Linked DNA regions of Homo sapiens: region 1 is linked to region 2. Evidence: promoter capture Hi-C in 16 types of primary human blood cells and fetal thymus (Javierre and others, 2016). All regions are on one chromosome and are shown on one strand. Each heading gives the region's core, a stretch centred on a gene start or on the middle of the fragment in contact. The rest is flanking DNA. Distances are from core to core; before and after follow the strand shown.

What was found. The method cuts DNA at HindIII sites, captures the fragments that hold promoters and counts their contacts. A CHiCAGO score of 5 or more calls a contact.
Region 1: a contact is called between a fragment that was not itself captured here and the fragment with the promoter of KLHL36 in region 2, in 4 of 17 cell types (endothelial precursors, monocytes, M0 macrophages and 1 more). The highest score is 6.4, in endothelial precursors.

The regions. Positions count from the first base shown.
Region 1 is chr16:84,974,222-84,980,133 of GRCh38, reverse strand. It overlaps ZDHHC7 (zDHHC palmitoyltransferase 7), which reads left to right. Exons shown (of 8, transcript NM_017740.3): 5 at 849-945; 6 at 2,129-2,210; 7 at 2,909-3,039; 8 at 3,615-5,912. The coding sequence ends at 3,791. Among named protein-coding and RNA genes, the nearest start is that of ZDHHC7, 34 kb to the left of the region's middle. RefSeq lists an enhancer at 2,604-3,803. The HindIII fragment of the contact is 1,742 bases long and covers 534-2,275 here.
Region 2 is chr16:84,645,551-84,650,936 of GRCh38, reverse strand. KLHL36 (kelch like family member 36) reads right to left here and starts at 2,426. Exons shown (of 5, transcript NM_024731.4): 1 at 2,288-2,426; 2 at 7-85. The coding sequence starts at 69. LOC105371376 (a long non-coding RNA gene) reads left to right here and starts at 1,358. Exons shown (of 4, transcript XR_933817.2): 1 at 1,358-1,445; 2 at 1,609-1,734; 3 at 4,381-4,501. RefSeq lists silencers at 1,853-2,132, 2,343-2,532, 2,593-2,762. The HindIII fragment of the contact is 5,630 bases long and covers 947-5,386 here.

The sequences.
Region 1 (5,912 bases), core at 155-2,654, 330 kb before region 2:
AAAAAATTAGCCGGGCATGGTGACTGGTGCCTGTAGTCCCAGCTACTCGGGAGGCTGAGGCAGGAGAATGGCGTGAACCCGGGAGGCAGAGCTTGCAGGGAGCTGAGATTGAGATTGCGCCACTGCACTCCAGCCTGGGCGACAGAGCAAGACTCCATCTCAAAAAAAAAAAAAAAAAAAAAAAGGTGACGCTATGATAGCAAGTCTGCCTGCAGCGAACCTGCTGCCATCGATGTCTGCTTGATGTAATTAAATGGTGCAAGCTTGGACTAAAAAGTAATCGATAATCAAATTAGTTATTTAAAATTGGACATACAGAGTGTTTTGGGCAAAAGTAAAATACAGCTGTTAAAAACAAGACGACTTCATGCCTGGGTGTGTAGTTGATGATTCAAGATGAATATGCAATCCATACTGCATATTCATCAGTGAATATGGATTCAGTGGTAGGAATTATTTGAAGATACAAAGAATGTTTCTCCTTGAGGGTAAAATTTCAGTTTTTGTTTTTTATTGAAATAGACTTGTAAGCTTGCAAAATTAGGAACATTACTGATAGGTGTACATGATCCAGCTCTACTGGGGGAGTGTCTGAGAACTCGTGAAGTATGGCTTAGTTTGACCTTTCGCCCCAAGCTGTTGGTCCATTGAGTATTTTCCTTAGGAAACGGAAGACATTTAATTAAAATGATAAACCTTAAAGGAATATAGTGAGAATGTATGATATTTTTTGACATGTTGTATTAGAATATACATTCTAATTTTCCTCCACCTTTGATTTTATTTGGTTGTGTTACTCTGGTTTCCTCAGAGCATGGAATACTGAAAAATCAAACTCTCCTTTTCAGTATTTGCAAAAGATGTATTCGGAAAATGGATCATCACTGCCCGTGGGTGAACAATTGTGTAGGAGAAAAGAATCAAAGATTTTTTGTGCTCTTCACTGTAAGTAAAAATATTTTTGTATTGAATTTACATTGAATTTGAAATTCTTTAACTGCTTCTTGCCTGGAGCAGAGAAATCTACTAACGTCAGGCCAGTTTCTCTCCAGCCTTTTCTCCAGGATTCAAATTATAATACTGTGCTGTCATTGGCAGGAAGTAGTCCCAATAAGTAATATGTTGCTTGTATTATTTTAGGTGTTCACTGTAATTTAATTCTCTCCCAGATGTCCTCAATCGCTATTGTTTATTAATAATAACAGGAATCTTCCTAAAGTATGTTAGAGTTTATTTCCTTTTTCTTTTCTTTTTTTCTTTTTTTTTTTTTTGAGATGGAGTTTTGCTCTTGTTGCCCAGGCTGGAGTGCAGTGGTGTGATCTCAGCTCACTGCAACCTCCGCCTCCCAAGTTCAAGTGATTCTCTTGCTTCAGCCTCCCAAGTAGCTGAGATTACAGGCATGTACCACCACGCCTGGCTAATTTTGTATTTTTCGTAGAGATGGGGTTTCTCCATATTGGTTGGGCTGGTCTTGAACTCCCGACCTCAGGCGATCCGCCCACCTCGGCCTCCCAAAGTGCTAGGATTACAGTCGTGAGCCACCGTGCCCGGCCGTTTATTTTTTTATAGACGGGGTTTTGCTGTGTTGCCCAGGCTGGTCTTAAACTCCTGAGCTCAAGCCATCTGCCCGTCTTGGCCTCCCAAAGTGCTGGGATTACAGGCGTGAGCCACCATGCCCAGCTATATTTTTCTATAAAATTATTCTACTTGGTCTAATATGATCTTGGGTAGGAAAATGTCAACTGCTGCCATTTAATCCTTCCCTCATTTTTTTCTCTGACAAGATGGAGGTATACACATGATGTGTCATCAGCCTTTGCTCTTAGAAAGACTTGTTTAAGTTACTAACTGGCTGGGTGGATCACTAGAGGTCAGCAGTTACAGACCAGCCTGGCCAACATGGTGAAACCCCATCTCTACTAAAAATGCAAAACAGTTAGCCGGGCATGGTGCTTGTAGTCTCAGCTACTTGAGAGGCTGAGGCAGGAGAATCGCTTGAGTCTGGCAGGCGGAGGTTGCAGTGAGCTGAGACTACGCCGCTGCATTCCAGCCTGGACAACAGAGGGAGACTCTGTTTCTAAAAAAAATAAAAAATAAAAGTGACTAACCAATCTCCCCCTCATTCTAGATGTATATAGCTCTGTCTTCAGTCCATGCTCTGATCCTTTGTGGATTTCAGTTCATCTCCTGTGTCCGAGGGCAGTGGACTGGTAAGTTCCCTGGCTATGTGTCATTCCTGGCTTTGCATGCTGTTATTGGATGAAAGGGGAAAGCTTTAAAGGAAGAACCAGTTTTCCAATTTTGAAGGAAATCATTGCAATTATTTTAGCAATTGAATTTTAAAGAATTTAGTTAAGTTTTAACACCACCATTTTACTAGTATATTGTTGCCCCAAAAGCTTGTGTCTGTCTGCTGGTCAGCTAGCTCGCCATTGTTCAAAGCAGGCTTCACGTTGCTTACGTGAGTGACCGACCCTAAGCAAGTGTAGTGAAAATAGGTGCTCGTTATCCTACCTTAGATATGCAGTGAGGTCTGGACAGGCTCATCCCACCCCAGGGGAACATGGTGAACAGACTCCTGTGAGCACTGCTCACTGGTATGGGTGCACACAACTCTTCTGGTCTGGCTTCATTTGCCATTTAATTCATAAATACAGTGTCAATAGAAACCTCAGAAAATACAGACTCTTTTGAAACCACTGGCCAGGAAGTCATGGTATGAATTTTTGCTTGGAAGGGTGGCCCTCCTCTGCTCCTTGGAGAACAATGAATGTGCCCATTTAGAAAGTGAACAACTTCCCCCTGGAAGCTGGCCAGGGGCTGGCCCTAGAGGATTCTTCTCTGAGCCAAACATTCTGCCACTCGGGGTATTCAGGACCAGTTATAACCAACTTCCTCTTGTCCGCAGAATGCAGTGATTTTTCACCTCCGATAACTGTAATCCTGTTGATCTTCCTGTGCCTTGAGGGTCTTCTGTTTTTCACTTTCACTGCAGTTATGTTTGGCACCCAAATCCACTCCATATGCAACGACGAGACGGTAAGCTTTGTTCTCGGCTGTGTGGACTTCATATGTGGTCCAAGCTTGAGTAAATGAAAAGTCCTAATGTCAACAATAGGTGCCTGTGGACTGACTCGGGAACGTAATGGGACGGTCTTGATGAGCTGCAACCAGCTCCCTGTGTTTGCTGTTTCTTTCATTCTGGGCAGTGCATATTTCTAGTCTCAGTTTGATTTGCAAGTCAGCAGAGCCAGGCAGATTCCCAGCTCCCAGTGCAGTCAGTAAATTTCAGGGAACTGACTGCCTTTAGGGCCTGGCTCTGCAGGCCTGGAGTGGCGCTCAGTAAATGTCTGTACACAGTAACTAACGAGCGACAAATGTTGGTGCCTGGCTGGGAGGGCCATTGTGGTAGTCTGGGCTGGCCACGTGGCTGCAGCCGGGCTGGGCTCACAGAGGCCACGGGGTCTGGATCGGGGCAGAGCTGGGAAGGAGAGTTCACTCACCTACCCTCCATCGAGCCCACACTGTGCTTGAGCACGGTGTGATTCTGAGGCTTGGTGGGGTCTGCCGAGCTTCCTGGAGCCGCTGCCACTTGCTTTTCTTTCTGCTTCCAGGAGATCGAGCGATTGAAAAGTGAGAAGCCCACATGGGAGCGGAGGCTGCGATGGGAAGGGATGAAGTCCGTCTTTGGGGGGCCCCCCTCACTCCTCTGGATGAATCCCTTTGTGGGCTTCCGATTTAGGCGACTGCCCACGAGACCCAGAAAAGGTGGCCCGGAGTTCTCAGTGTGAGGCGTGGCTCATCAGACTGAAACTTGCTCACAGACTTCCAGTTATTTATTTGGGGTCTGAAGGATATCAACAGCTCATCTGTGACCAACAGGGCAACTGGAACCTACACAAACCAATTGCTTGCAGCAAGCAGAGTTTTATATATTTATAGTCACAGATGGCAGAGGAAGAGGCTCTCAGTCCCCACCTGTACAACAACGGAAAGGTGTGTGGCCACACGAAGAAGCCAAACGCCGTGGCCTCCTGCAGAGCTGGGGCTTCTGTGGAGAATACTTCGGGTTATTACATGGGTTATTCAAATCCTGGGTCCTGAGCTGCTGTTTCCAATCATGAAGAAAAACAGTGAATCCAGTGAACAGGGATTCTCCAAGCAGTCATTTCAGGGGGCTCCTGCTGACCCCGCCACTCAGCAGTGCACTCCCCGGATCACAGCAGGGCGTTTACATAGAAAGACGTTTTGGTCTCGATTAGCTCCGATGCTTTGCACTGAAGTTGCAAAAGATCTGTGCACTGAACAGTGAAGGTGGCTTCCGGCACACTCCCCGCTGCCCCGGAAGAGACATCCTTTGACCCTCTCAGCAAGTCTGTGTGTGTGCGTGTCTGTGCGTGTGCGCGCGTGTGTGCATGTGTGTCAAAATTGCCAGTGTTGTTTAGGCAATGTAACATTTACCGGCTGTGTACAGCAAACAAGCTATTTTTTAGAAACCGACGTTTCAGGGAAGAGGGGAGAGAGCCGCGGGGTCCTGCCCGTGGTTACTATGAATGTATTGCTGTTGGAGGACATCTCGATCCAAAGAACAGCCGTTCCTGTGCGGCCCTTCGTTGCCCTCCTGCTTTCATTTTTTAAAGAAATCTTGAGTGCTTGAGGGCCTTGGAACTGATTTTTTTTTTTTGTTCCAGCCAAATTAGCAGTGTATAAATGGCACCTAGGTAAGAGCAGAGCTGCGGCTCGGTGACTTGATACTTGGGGCAGCCCGATGCTGTGTGTGGGGCAGGGGAGGCATCCTTACTGGAGAGGCAGGGCCCAGCCATTGGGCACCTCTGGGAAGGGGAGGGGACCATGAGGCAGCCAGCCCCTGGCAGGGGCGACTGTGCCACCGCAGGCAGCGCTCCAGTCGGGAATGGCCAGGATGGCGCCCTCTTGTTGGAGTTTTTGGTTAGCTTTTACGTTTTCTTCTCCACCCACGGCACAGGTGATAAAATAGGATCCTTGGTGCGGAGCTTAAAATTATGCCAGAAAGCCAACAGCTCCCCTCGTGGGGCCTTGCCTTAAACTTGCCTGGTTTGTACATTTTTTGCCGGACGCATCAAGAAGCAATCTGTGACAAAGTCTGAGGGTCTTCCTTTATGCTTGCCCTCCACACTAAGAGAAGTTGGCGTCTCCCTCCTGGGAATTGTTTTGCCTTTCTGTTCATCTGTGAACTGTTTTTTGTTTTTAATTACTCTGTACCCCATCCGAATCAGGGCTTCTACCACTGCTGATGCAAAACCACAAAGGGACCTACCTGAGCCACCGTCCTAGCCAAGCGAGCAAACCTGCAGGGGGTTTGGAAGTGGACTTGGTCACCGCAGAAGCGTGTGCGCCGTTGGGGGAAGAGCTGCGTCACAGCCAGAGGGACAAAGTGTGGGTGATCCTGGAGACGCCAGTTTCCGAGATTGTTCTGCATATTCATTTGCACATTGTTGTCTGGGTTGGACATGCGTGTGGGCTTCAGTGTGAGGCTTTTAATATGTATATCCTGTTATCAATAAAACAATTATCCAAGTGGTTGAATCCTGTGAGACTTGGCAAGTGTGTGCAAATCAAGTATACTTGACTTTTCAACCTCTTCTTTCAATGTAACTTTTATATGAAATAAAGTAATCAATTAACAGTTCTCAAATGGCTTCCAAAGCGCCCGTTCTTCCTGGATGGTGGTGTTTTCAGGGGGTGCCTTTCCGTGCTTCGTGGGCCCAGCCCCAGGCTGTTAAGGTCACTCCCAAACAGTTTCCAGAAACTCTAAATGCTTTTGTGCCCATGACAAGTGACCTGGGCACTCAAGCGCGACTCACAAATGTTGCCCAGTGAGTACTGTTGCTTGTTGAATGTTTAATTCGACTCCCATCGTTTTACTTAGTCCT
Region 2 (5,386 bases), core at 1,177-3,676:
ACAGACCTTTGATGATTCGCTGATCTTGTATGGCCGAGACACTCGCGTCTGCCTGCTTCCCTCCATCATTAAAGAGATTTCAGCCCTAGGAGAAGAACAGGATTTCTGAGCATGCAGTCATAACTCTAGGTCATTCATTAATTTCAGGCCCTGCTAGCAGATACCAAGGATGACAGTGAAAACAGTCACACGGAAGAAGGAGGGAGGGAGGACCGTGCACTACAAAGAACTCTTTTACACCGAGTTGAGAAATCATCGGGTTGTTAGAATTGGACAGAACATTTAACTCCCATTCCTTTATCATCTAAAATCTGATATCATGTCATTTGGTTCACTTCCTACAAATAATTACCTTTTGGCTACATCAAGGTTATAATGATAAGTTATCATTTCGGAGCCCAGACTACAGCCCTCGAACCAAGCTAAGTGACTTAAGTGTGCCATCTCATTTAACCCCCACAAAGATTATACTTGGCCAGGCTGATATCACTTATTTCATTTCACAGATGAGGATATTGATCTCATGGTCACAAAGCTAGTAAACGGCCGAGAATCACGCCTCGGTCTGTCCAGCTTCAAAACCTGGATCCATCACCATGACACGCTGCTGAATGAGGCCCGGGTTCGAGAGTATCACACTTTAAAAATATCATGATGCAGATGAGGATGTGGTACAGTGATGACTACCATGTACACAGTACATTCTAGACACACACTGTCCCCAAGTGCTTCTCTGCATCTTCACTTAGTCCCCACTGCAACCCCATGAGGCCAGCACTGTGACTGGAGGATGCTGAGAGCAGTGAGGTGAAATAAGCTGCCCGGCGTCACACAGCTGGGAACTGGCAGAATTGGGATTCCAGCTCAGGGAAGCGCCCATGCTCTTAACTCTTAGGCTACACTGCCTGGCTCTTGGGTGGGGGATCACTGCAGACAGAGTTAAGCTTTGGTGTGTGGGGGGCGGGGGAGGCAGGGGGAGGGGCAGGTGCTTCAAAGATGGAAGGGAACACAGAGAAGGGACTTTGCCAACTAATATTAGCACAAGTCACATACTGAGACGAAGGTTTTAAAGAGGATTTTTTTCCCCCGCTATTTGAGTTCATGAGAAGAGTTTGTTACCTATTGAACAAATAGTCTTCACTAATAAAGAACAATGTGACAAGAAGTCAGCACTGTTCTTAGATAACTGGGGACACAGGGAGGGCACTCCAGTGTTCCCATGGAAGGAATGAATTCGGGCACAGTCCGTCCCGTGCAACTCCCCTAGGGAGAGAAGGGGCAACTGGATTCCTCTCGACAAACTAGAAACTTTGTGACAATGACAAGCTGTTCCCACCCCGGCCCTCCCCTAGGATGCTGGAGAGCCCAGAGAGGGAAGAGAAGAAACCCAGCGTTGGTGCGGTGCCCACCGCGGACTCGACTTCATTCCACCTTCACGCTGAGAGGTGACACCGTCGTTCCCACAGTGAGACCTGGCGCTCGGGTGCCCCAGGGGGGGTTGCCCAAGGTCACAGAACAGCAAGCAGCAGGTGCCCTCTCTCTCCACCGCCCCAGGCAGCCTGCCCAGAATCAACCAGGCCTTCTAACGCTCAACGCTTTATTTTCTAGGCCAAGATACCTAGAGAGAGTTCGCGGGGCCGGAGGCTCCCTGCTGTCTCCTGCAAGTGCGTGGGGGTGGGGTCTGATTTCCACCCGTGTTGGACGTCAGCGGCCTCCGACGCTTTTTGGAAGCAGGTGAAGGGTCAAGGCCACCCCCAAGCACAGTGACAATCCCAGGTCACTGGAAAAGGTCTTCCAGTAAACATGGGACCGCAGGCCCCGTCCGGCCGGGGGTTTCCCAGAGCGCCTCCTCCCCAAGCTCCCTCCCGACCTCAGCGTTGGAGAAAGCGACGCTGCTGACACCGGCTCGCCGGCGGGGTCTCCGGGGACGCCGCTGTCGTTCGCTCGGACCCCGCAGCCCAGGCGGAACTCAGCGCAACGGCCGCCCAGCAGGCTCCAGCCGGCGGCGAGGAGGCGGAGTCGGGACGGCCCGGGGCGGGGGCCACTCACCTGCCACGCGCGGGGCGGTCCGCACAGGCCGCACCTGTGTCACCTGCGGGGGCGGCGGCCCCTCCCCCGGCCGCGGCGCCCCCACTCGCCCACCCGCCCGCCCCGGCACCAAGGGGCGCAGGGGGGTCGCGGCTCGCGGTGGCCGGGGACCCTCCCGATCTCCGCCAGCTCCCCGCCCCGGCCGGGCGCGGCTTCCTGGCGGTCCCGGGCTGGAGGGTGGGCGCGCGCGGAGGCCCACCTGGCAGGACGCGCTACGGACGCGGCGGGGACAGCCCCGGCGGCGGGGCCGGGCGGTCGGGGCGGCGGGGCCCGGGTTCAGGAGACCCCCGGCCAGCCCGCTGCGCAGCCATGGCTCCGCCAGGAAGTGCGAGGCCGAGGGCGGAGGCGGCGCGCGCGGCCAATGGCGGCGGCCGCGGGGAGGCGGGGCCGGGCGGCGCGGGGCGGGGCCTGCGGCTGAGGGCGGGACGCGGGGGCCGTGGGGTGAGCTCGCAGGGTGGACGCCCCCCTCGTCCGCGCCCCGGGGATCCCCGGTGTCCACCCCACCACGACGCCCGACTCCGTCCCTTCAAAGGCAGGCCCCAGCCCCGCCGCGCGAAATGCTCCCTGGTGCCACCCACCGTCACGGACGCAGGGCCACGGCGGGGACCAGACACGCAGGGTCCCGGGCCTCGAGGCACCGACGCGTGCGCTGGGAGCTCTTTGCTGGCCCAGAGTCGCCGGGACGGGCACCGCGCCTCTCGCCTCCTTCCGGGCTGAGCGGGAGCGTCCCTGCGGCCACCCTGCGGCGAGGCCTTTGCTGACCGCTCTGCTCGAAGTCACAGCCCCTCTCTCTGCACCCAACTTCCAACCCCATGCTTCACTTGAGCTCTTATCAGCGTCTAATATTCCAAATAATGTACTAGTTTATTCGGTTTATTGTCTCTCCTCCCTACCAGAAGCCCTCCAGGGCAGGGTTTACTGTTAGTTCTATTCCTGACTGGGTCGTCGCCAAGACTGGCACACAGTAGGTGCTCAGTAAATGTGTATGGAATGAATGAATGTAACCTTCATCGATCCATCTATCAATTGTCACACTTCGCTCATGCTACAGCGGGATGAACCTTGGAGATGTAATACTTAGTGAAAGAAGCCAGACACAAAAGACCACACACTGTATGATTCCGTGTATGTGAAATGTCCGGAACAAGCCAATCCATAGAGACAGAAAGTAGATGAGTGGTTGCCAGGGGCGGGGAGTTGCTGGAGTGGGAAATGGCTGCTGAAGGATCAGCGATTTCTTTTGTGTAGTGCTCACTACAGCCTCCACCTCCCAGGCTCAAGTGATCCTCCTGCCTCAGTCTTTCATGCAGCTGAGACCACAGGTGCCGGCTGCCACACCTGGCTATTTTTTTTTCTTTGATTTTTATAGAGACAGGGTTTCAGTTTGTTGTCCAAGCTGGTCTTGAACCCCTGGGCTCAAGCGATCCTCGTGCCTCGGTATCCCAAAGTGCTGGGATGACATGTGTGAGCCAGCACACCCAGCCCACTTACAGGATCTTTATTTTTTAATTATTTATTTATTTATTTTATTTATTTATTTATTTATTTTTTTTCTTTTTTTTTTTGAGACGGAGTCTCGCTCTGTCGCCCAGGCTGGAGTGCAGTGGCGGGATCTCGGCTCACTGCAAGCTCCGCCTCCCGGGTTCACGCCATTCTCCTGCCTCAGCCTCCCAAGTAGCTGGGACTACAGGCGTCCACCACCTCGCCCGGCTAATTTTTTGTATTTTTAGTAGAGACGGGGTTTCACCGTGTTAGCCGGGATGGTTATTTATTTTTTTGAGACAGAGTCTTTCTGTCACCCCGGCTAGAGTGCAACGGCTCAATCTCAACTCACTGAAATCTCCACTTCCTGGATTCAAGCGATTCTCCTGCCTCAGCCTCCTGAGTAGCTGGGATTACAGGCGCCCACCACCACGCCTGGCTAATTTTTGTATTTTTAGTAGAGATGGGGTTCACCATATTGGCCAGGATGGTCTCAAACTGCTGACCTCGGGTGATCTGCCTGCCTCAGGCTCCCAAAGTGCTGGGATTACAGGTGTGAGCCAAGGATCTTTAAATGATGTTCTCACTGACTGGATTGCTGTCCCCCATCTCTCTCTCTCTCTCTCCCCTTTTCTTTGGGGACTGTACACATTCACCCTGCCAAGCCTTACTTGCCTGTCTTTGACCCTTCCTGGACCTGTCCCTACCCCAGACAAAGCTAATCCTCCTGTTATTCTGTCTCCATACCGACATGTGGATGGATCTCTGTTCTGACATGAATTCATGCACTGCCTCTCATTCATCCAACAGACTTTTCAGGAACACCTGCTGTGTGGCCGGCACTGTAGTAGGTGCCAGGGATACAAAGAAGAAACTTTCAGGGCTCTTAGGAAGACAGGAAAACAAGTCAATCAGCAATGGTCCTAGCGTGGTGAGTACTGTGTTGGGGCAATACACGGAGCACCAAGAGTTGGACATATTCTTTTTTACAGCTAGAGTTAAAGATTCTCTTGATAAATAGATATAGGTAGATAAATAGATACATGCCCCTCTATATATGGGTATCTATCATATCTATTTATCTGTCTAACAAGAGATTTAGCTGTAGATATTTTAAGAGCCTATAACTCTTATATAGATAAATGGATACATGCACCTCTATATATGGGTATCTATGCTATCTATCTATCTATCTATCTATTTATCTAACAAGAGATTTCGCTGTAGAGCCTATAACTCAGCATGAACATCGGCCTTCCGGGTGTTGTGTTCATCATGAATGAGAAGACGTGCAACCTGGTGTATGGGGGCCGGAGTAAGGGCCTAAGACAAGCTCATCCACACATGACCTTGACATGAAAACGGTGTGGACTCGGCTAACTTGGCTTCACCCTGCGTTCCCCAACAGCACTTTGTGAACCACTCTCTCAGTCTTTTTCTTTCAGTAACGTTTTGTGTCCTCCCAAATTATAAAAGTAATGCATGCTTTACTCAGCTACTCTCAATACAGAAAAGTTCAAAACAAAAAACCAAACAGCCATGTGTAGTGGCTCATGCCGGTAATTCCAGCACTTTGGGAGGAAAAAGGATCACTTGAGCTCAGGAGTTCGAGACCATCCTGGGCAACATAGCAAGACTCTCGTCTGTACAAAAAAAAATTAAACATCAGCCAGTCATGGCTGCATGCATTTGTAGTCCCAGCTACTTGGGAGGCTAAGGTGGGAGGATTGCTTGAGCCCACGAGGTCGAGGTTGCAGTGAGCTGTGGTTGTGCCACTGTACTCCAGCCTGGGTAACAGAGCAAGACCTTGTCTCAA